Regions from separate parts of the Homo sapiens genome. Here region 1 is linked to region 2. The links are contacts of gene promoters, found by promoter capture Hi-C in blood cells and fetal thymus (Javierre and others, 2016). All regions are on one chromosome and are shown on one strand. Each heading gives the region's core, a stretch centred on a gene start or on the middle of the fragment in contact. The rest is flanking DNA. Distances are from core to core; before and after follow the strand shown.

Region 1 (3,754 bases), core at 74-2,573, 290 kb before region 2:
ATCCGAGCAAGCGTCTCCACGGGGCAAAGCAAGGCCTTGAGGATCCCGCTAACATAACTTACAAATTATTGGGAGGCCGAGGCGGGTGGATCACAAGGTCAGGTGTTCGAGACCAGCCTGGCCAACATGGTGAAACCCCGTCTCTACTAAAAATACAAAAATTAGCTGGGCGTGGTGGTGGGCACCTGTAATCCCAGCTGCTCAGGAGGCTGAGGCAGGAGAGTCGCTTGAGCCTGGGAGGTGAAGGTTGCAGTGAGCTGAGTTGGCGCCATTCCACTCAGCCTGGGCAACAGAGCGAGACTCCATGTCAAAAAAAAAAAAAAAAAAGACATTGACCACTTAAACGACCACAGCATGAAATCAGACAGAAAAATCCATTTTTATCAATAAATGCTGCGTCACTTGCTCTTCCAAACACAGGAAGCATTTTTTGCTCTGCACGTGACTGAGGAGACTGTGGGTCCCAGGGTGGCCCCTCCCTGGGTCCCAGCCGAGCTTCAGCCCGGCAAGCTCAGACCACGGGTGGACTGCAGGCCCCGTCCACAGGGCGTCGATGCATTGGGGCACAGCGGACTGATGCTGTTGTCTGCAGAGGACAGCGTGGCTCTCCAGGACTCCAGCGACTGCGCACGACGGCGATTGTCGCTGCACCTGCTGCTGTGGCTCCGGGGCACCGCGGGGCTCAGTTCAGCTTTCGGCGCAGATGGAGGCCATCGGCAGAAACCCGGAGCTACAGCCGAGCTGAGCTTACAGTGCTCGGTAACCCTCAGGCACTGGAAATAATTTGGATGTGTTCAAGGGGAATATCTAGTTTGTTCTTTCCAATATTGGAAGAAAAAAGTAAAACCATCAGCCACTTTCTTTACTCAAACACCACAGGGATTGGCAGGAGGTCCCAAGAAGGGGTTAGGGGAGGACGGGGTGGCGGGAGGCAGGTCTGAAGCCACCGCACCCTGGTCCACCCCGCTGCTGGGCCACGCCAGCCGAATTCACACGGTCCTTGGGGACATTTCAGTTGACTGTCACCTGCCTCCGTACGGTGGTGTGAGAGGAATGCGCGCCACCACGGCGGCCAGGTTTTGACATCGTTCCCTACTCTGAATGCACCTTAGCTTGTCTGGTGTCGGGGGATGGGGGCACAGATTTCCTCAGCTTTGCCACTTTTTTTTAGAGATGGAGGCTCACTATGTTGCCAGACCGGTCTCGAATTCTTGGGCTCAAGAGATCCTCCTGCCTCAGTTTCCAAGTAGCTGAGACTACAGGCGCCAGCCACCGTGCCCAGCCTTCCTTGCTTTCTGAATTAGACCTAAGGCACTGGCAGAAACCCTCTGCAATTCTGACGCCATCGAGATCCTAAGACTGAGTCAACTCTAGCTCCTCTCATGATGAACCAGGTCATCGCCTGCGTCTGCCTCCTCCGGGTGGCCGCAGGTCTTAGGGCCACCGCTTCCTGTCCTGAGTGTCCACTCCCCACGTGGACTCCCAAAAAGTGTGTTTTCCAAGCACACTCTTAGAATGCTGTTTCTCTCAAAAAAAGGCCGTCCACTCCGTTTTGCCTTATGAAAAAATGGGAAAGTATTCTGAAAGTATTCCAAAAGCCCAAAACACCTATCGGAGACTCACGGAAGCCTGCGGAGACGGTCACCAGATACCAAGGGTTCGAGGCGTTTCTCAGAGCCTGTGCTTGGAACTGACCGTCAGGAAGCAATCGGAGCCGAAGCCGCTGCTCCCAAACCTGGCCGCCCATCGGCCTGGCCTTCCCGGAGCAGGTGGCAACACGGAGAACCTTTTTTTTTAAAAAAAAAAGGCATCTTAAATTGTGGTTTGGGATTTTCTTTTTTTTTTATATCATGAAAAAAGATTTAGAGAATTACAAGAGTTTAGGTTAATAGGAAACACAAATGGAGGTGGAAATTTAAAAACAAAGGAATGGAACTCAACTCTCCACAGATTGAACCCACACAGGTGTCACTGTTTACTGAATTAGCACCACTTTTGTGCAGTGAAGACACCCGTGGCTGAGATTTCTTAAATCTCACTTTTTCCATGCTTTTCTTCTGACAAACTGACCACGGAGGGAGAGCTCTCCTCCCCCCTCCCTATCCCAGACTGCTGCTGCTTTCCTGCAATTCTGGTGGTCTTTTTGTTGCCTCATCTGATTGAGACTTTGGGGAAACAACACAGCAGCAAACCAGGACATATATTCCCTCTAAAAACAGCTTGAAAATTACAACACAAAGATCTCAATAATTATGAGATGCAGTGATTTTTTCTTTTTTTTCTCTTCCCCCGGCCGCGCTTGGAGGTATCTCTAGGTTAGACTCCTCTGGGGCTGGAATGACGTGAAGGGTAAGGTCGCCCAGCTTGGCCAGGGCAGTCGGGGGCAGGACAGCGGGAGAGCCGGTCCGACCCCAGCCCAGCCTGCTGGGTCAGCATTCATCAGAGAGGTCGTCGCTGCCCGGGAGCTCCGCGGCTTCGAGCTCCACGCTGGACAGAAACCTCCTCAGCGTCTTGCGGCAGTTGTAATCCAGGGTGGTGGTGTAGACGGCCTTGGGGTACTTGGGGTACACGATGGTGGTACTGAGGAAGCGGGTGGGCCTGTGGCGTGGCTCGAAGCGCACCTCGGCCTTGTAGTTGCGCCACGTGCCATTGGGGACACAGGTGACCGTCTGGCTGCAGGAGGCCACCGCCAGGCCCAGGGGCAGCTGCACGTCGTCGATGAAGTGCCTCTCGGAGTCGTACTTGACCAAGGAGGTGTACCTGGGCGGGAGACATAAGAGGCCGCGTGAAGCCGCTCCTCTGAGCCGGGGGCTTGGGGTCCCCACTGTGACCGTGAGTCATTTGTGGGGTGCACATGTAGAAACGTGGCCGCCCCAGTGAGAAGCAGCATAGGGTCACAGAGTCTATAAAGTACTTACTATGTGCCAGGTACCCGTCGTCTAAGTACTTTACTTACGGGATCCAATTTAATCTCCCCAACGACCCTGAGAGAAGAAACCGAGGTGCAGAGGTGAAGGTCACAGCGCCACTGAGTACTGGAGCTGGGATTTAAATACAGGGGTGCAGGCTTCCAAAGCTGGCCCCACATCACTGTTAGCCACTGCGGGCAGCAGCCCTGGATCCTGCTCCCACTCGCACAAGCTTAAGACCTCAGCCAAGTTACTTCACTCTTCCGAGCCTCCGTTTCCTCTTTTTTTTTTTTTTTTTTTGAGATGGAGTCTCGCTCTGTCACCCAGGCTAGAGTGCAGTGGTGCAATCTCAGCTCACTGCAACCTCCGCCTCCCAGGTTAAAGTGATTCTCCTGCCTCAGCCTCCTGAGTAGCTGGGATTACAGGCGCCCGCCACCACGCCCTGCTAATTTTTGTATTTCTACTAGAGACGGGGTTTCACCATGTTGACCAGGCTGGTCTCAAACTCCCGACCTCAGGTGATCTGCCTGCCTTGGCCTCCCAAAACGCTGGGATTATAGACATGAACCACTGCACCTGGCCTCTTTTTTTGTGTTTTTTTTTTTTAAACAACATATCTTTTATTCTTTGTAGAGATGAGGACTTCCTGTGTCGCCCAGGCTGGTCCTAAACTCCTGGGCTCGAGCAATCCTCCTGCATCAGCCTCCCAGAGTGCTGGGATTACAGGCATGAGCCGCCGCACCCACCCTATCAGCTCTTTAATGAGAGGATAAAGGAACCCAGAAACCTTGAATGCTGGTTCTGAAAGTTTGGCTATACCAAATATTAATACTTTGTTCACCTTG
Region 2 (4,045 bases), core at 621-3,120:
ACCAACCTGAAGTGGCTTTCTCCTTTCACTGAGTATGTCAGCAGTGAATTTGGGAGTTAGAGATGTTGCCCTAAGTGGACGAAGTTTGAGGCTTTTCTTGAGGCTGTCTGCCACCGTCCTGTTGGCTAAGTCCCTTTTCTTAACCACATATAGGAAGATGTTAGAGGCTACATTCATTCCAAAAGGTCACAGCCTAGTAACTGATACTACCACTGAAGGAAAACTATCTTTTAAACCTGAGAAACATCTTCAGACTCCATCATGAATGAATCCAAATTGAAAAAAACAAAAGCTGTGCTCACTCTACACCAGTTCCTACATCACTAACTGCCGTGTTAAAGTAATTTAACTGGCACCTAACAGAAATCATCTGCCACTTTGTAAAAGTCATAGACTCATAAGAATCTAGAGCTGGAAGACCGTTAAAGAGCTAGTGATCCAGCCTCCCTCTCATTTCACGGACCAGCAAATCGTGGCCCAGAGAGCCGAGCCCAGCTGTTCCGAAGTCCTCATACGGGATTTTGGTCAGCATTTTGCATGACGGTGATCTGAGGAGACCCGTCATACCTTTCATTTGTAGTAACATAAATGAACTGTATTTCCCACCCCCTACGTTTGTTAGCTGAGGAAGATACAGACCAAAGCAAAATAAAGCTGGTAGTTCCTAAAGGACAGAAGCCAATGATACTGAAATTCCTGTCTTCATCCATGTGATTGGTGCTTGGCACAAATGAAATGTATTCCAATTCATTCAAGTTTAGACGCCTGTCCCGATAACTGTTTTTTTGTTTGTTTGTTTGTTTGTTTTTTGAGACAGAGTCCTGCTCTGTGGCCCAGGCTGGAGTGCAGTGGCGTGATCTCGGCTCACTGCAACCTCTGCCTCCCAGGTTCAAGCGATTCTCCTGCCTCAGCCTCCAGAGTAGCTGGGACTACAGACAGGCACCACCACACCTGGCTAATTTTGTATTTTTAGTAGAGACGGGGTTTCACCGTGGTGGTCAGGCTGGTCTCGAACTCCTGACGTCAAGTGATCTGCCCGCCTCGGCCTCCCCAAGTGCTGGGGTTACAGGCGCGCCCGACCCCGATACTTTTAAATAACGACACGTTGTGAACAACACCACAGTCCCTACGCCTCTGGATGGTGTCTCCGGATAGATCCAAAGCCGAGAGGCAGTAAGAGCCTGCAGCCTCCACAGTCCGCCTCCTGGTGCAGGTGGAGAGGGGCTGCTGGAGGCCCCCGGACCTCACGCTTCCTGAGGGCCACCCCGGAGCGGCTGCAGCCGCTGGCGGCACCGGGAAAAGCATCTCGGCCGTGCGGGGAGAGGCCACATCCTGAGGCCTCCCACCGAGAAGCACCAGGGCTTGGTGGACGGGGCCCGCGAACCCAGGGCCACACGCCGCCTCCCTCCTTCCTTCCCCGCGGGCCTCGCCCCACCCCGGAGGGGGTTCCTACCTGGCTTCCTCGGCCCCGCGCCCACCCCGCCCCTTCGCCCGGGGCCGGCGAGAAGAGCAGGTCGGGGAGGGGCGCGTCCGCTGACGGAACAGAAGCCGGGAGCCGCGGCCCTTCCCGCCTCCGCCTGGGCCCCGCGGCCGCTCGGGAGGGAGCGGCGGACTCGGAACGCGCGCGCGCCGCGGCCCCGGCCACAGCCGCCGCCTCGGTCCCCGCCTCCGCCCCCGCCCACCCGCCCGCCGGGGACGCCGGGGAACCCTCCGGGCCCAGGGACCGCGAGAGACCCCGCCCCGCCCTATCGCAGCCGCCGGGCCTGGTCACGCGCAGAGCCGCGCCGCGGGATCGGGGCCAGCGCCGGGCGGAGGCGGGACGGGGACGGGGGCGGAGGGTTGAAATCGCGCGGCCGGGCCGGGGCGCGCCGAGCCGAACCCAGCCACGCGGCGCCAGCGAGGCGGCCGGACCCGCAGCCCCGATGCTGCTGACGCTGGCCGGGGGCGCGCTCTTCTTCCCGGGGCTCTTCGCGCTCTGCACCTGGGCGCTGCGCCGCTCCCAGCCCGGATGGAGCCGCACCGACTGCGTGATGATCAGCACCAGGTACCGGCGCCGCCGAGACGCCCCCCGAGGCCCGGGGCGCTGCCCACCGCACCCCACCCGGCCGCGGGGCCCAGGGCGGAAAAGGGGGGCGGCAGGAAGCCCGGGGGCTGCTCCCTCCGCGTCCCGGCGGCCCGAGTTTCCGAAGCCCCTCCGCGTCCTCCCCTGGCGGGAGCGGGGCCGGGGCGGGCGGGAATGGCCGATGAGCCTCCGGAGCCCGCTCCCCACATCTGCCTGCGGCTGGGGAGAGTCAGGCCGAAGGGCCGGGCCGGGCTCCCTGCGGTCCTCGGACCGGACTGAGCGCGCGCGCTGTTCTCTCCGCCCGCGCTAGGCTGGTTTCCTCGGTGCACGCCGTGCTGGCCACCGGCTCGGGGATCGTCATCATTCGCTCCTGCGACGACGTGATCACCGGCAGGTAAGAGCCCGGGCCGGGGCCTTGTTGCAAATGTCACATTTCAGTAGCTCGCAGGCTCTGGCTCTCGCAGCACACGCGCTCAGAAAGCTGACTAATGGGAAAAGCTGGCACCACAATGGGCTCCTTCTTCCTCTCCGGAGTCTTCGGGCACCCCCAGCTTAGGAGAAAGTCCACGGAAATGAGGGAGGACGACAGAGTCGGAGTCTGATTTCAGGTGGTGTGAGCCAGGGATCCAGGTCCTTCATGGAAGAGATAAGCGTGGAAGCATTTACGACTGGGAGTGTGGCTTGATTCTTGCAGTTGGCTTCACTGGGTTCTCACTCTGGAGCATCACTGGCTAACAGACGTCCAGTGTGGTTAGCAGAGCCCCCTCCATGGAAAGGAACCAACCCACCACCCCCTTCCACGCAAACGCCGCTCTTGCTTTTCCTGCAGATTTGCTAAAGGTGATTGAGAGGTTCCCAGCGCTTAGAACACGGACTTGTACGTCTATCAGAGGTCAGTCCAGAGGCAGGTCAGGAAATGTGCACCTATCTGCAGTTCCAGTGAAACAAATCATAAATTAAGACCAGAATAGTCGACTTTGTACAGTAGTTAGACCTGGACAATGGTGGTGCTTTTATTATTTCAAGCCTTTTTTTTCCCCACCGGTCTTGCTGGAATCACACTCACTTTCTCCCAAGTTGAAGGACCACAGTCGGATGTGCAGGAAGTTGAACGGCCTTTCCAGGCCCTGCTCTCCTGTGGGCTCTGCCAAGTCCTGCTTCTCACCTGCTGAGACTGAACTGCGAGGGGCCTGAGCAAGCTGTCCGTCTCACTCTAGCCTGCGGTCTTACCTGGGATCAATCCTGCTGTCATGATTTTTGTGCTTTTCTTCTGCCTTTTTAAAAACAAAACTGGCTATTGGCGATGAATAAGTAGATGCTACGATAGATCAAGTGACATCGATTGTAGACACCAAAGGTTAATATTGGTGTGGCTGGGTACAATTTTTCTTCTTCTTCTTCTTCTTTTTTTTTTAAAGACAGGGTCTCACTATGTTGCCCAGGCTGGTCTTGAACTCCTGGGCTCAAGTCATTTTTCTGCCTCACCCTCACAAAGTGCTGGGATTACAGGCATGAGCCACCACACCCAGCAAATTTTTTACTTTTTTTTTTTCCTGTCGAGACCTCAGGCTGAGGTGCAGTGGCATAATGACAGCTGACTGTAGTCTTGAACTCCAGGGTTCAAGCCACCCGTCTTCCTTAGCCTCCCAAGCTTGGACTACAGGCACACACTACTACACCTGGCTAACTTTTTTTTGTTGTTGTTGGTAGAGACAGGGGTCTCCCTGCGTTGCCCAGGCTGGTCTTGAACTCCTGGGCTCCAACGATCCTCCTGCCTGGGCCTCCCAAAGTGTTGGGATTATAGGCGTGAGCCACTGCACCCAGCCAAAAAAGGCCTTTCAGGGTTCATATACTATATACTGAATATTTTTCTATTATATGCCTTCTCATTTTATGCCTTCACATAGAATGCGATTAGATAGAAGGAGTTAAAAATCCCCCCAAATTATAGGCAGAAGGTGGTATGGGGCCAAGGATTTAGTC

What was found. The method cuts DNA at HindIII sites, captures the fragments that hold promoters and counts their contacts. A CHiCAGO score of 5 or more calls a contact.
Region 1: a fragment that was not itself captured here is called in contact with the fragment with the promoter of TLCD3A in region 2 in 1 of 17 cell types (neutrophils); the score reaches 6.0 in neutrophils.

Annotation. Positions count from the first base shown.
Region 1 is chr17:440,735-444,488 of GRCh38, forward strand. RFLNB (refilin B) reads right to left here. Exons shown (of 2, transcript NM_182705.3): 2 at 1-2,760. The coding sequence ends at 2,430. Among named protein-coding and RNA genes, the nearest start is that of RFLNB, 3.3 kb to the right of the region's middle. The HindIII fragment of the contact is 3,632 bases long and covers 1-3,139 here.
Region 2 is chr17:730,726-734,770 of GRCh38, forward strand. TLCD3A (TLC domain containing 3A) reads left to right here and starts at 1,871. Exons shown (of 5, transcript NM_024792.3): 1 at 1,871-2,044; 2 at 2,373-2,456. The coding sequence starts at 1,923. It overlaps LOC124903893 (a long non-coding RNA gene), which reads right to left and starts at 1,655. Exons shown (of 2, transcript XR_007065572.1): 1 at 1,454-1,655. RefSeq lists silencers at 1,348-1,827, 1,848-2,117, 2,188-2,287. The HindIII fragment of the contact is 13,049 bases long and covers 1-3,711 here.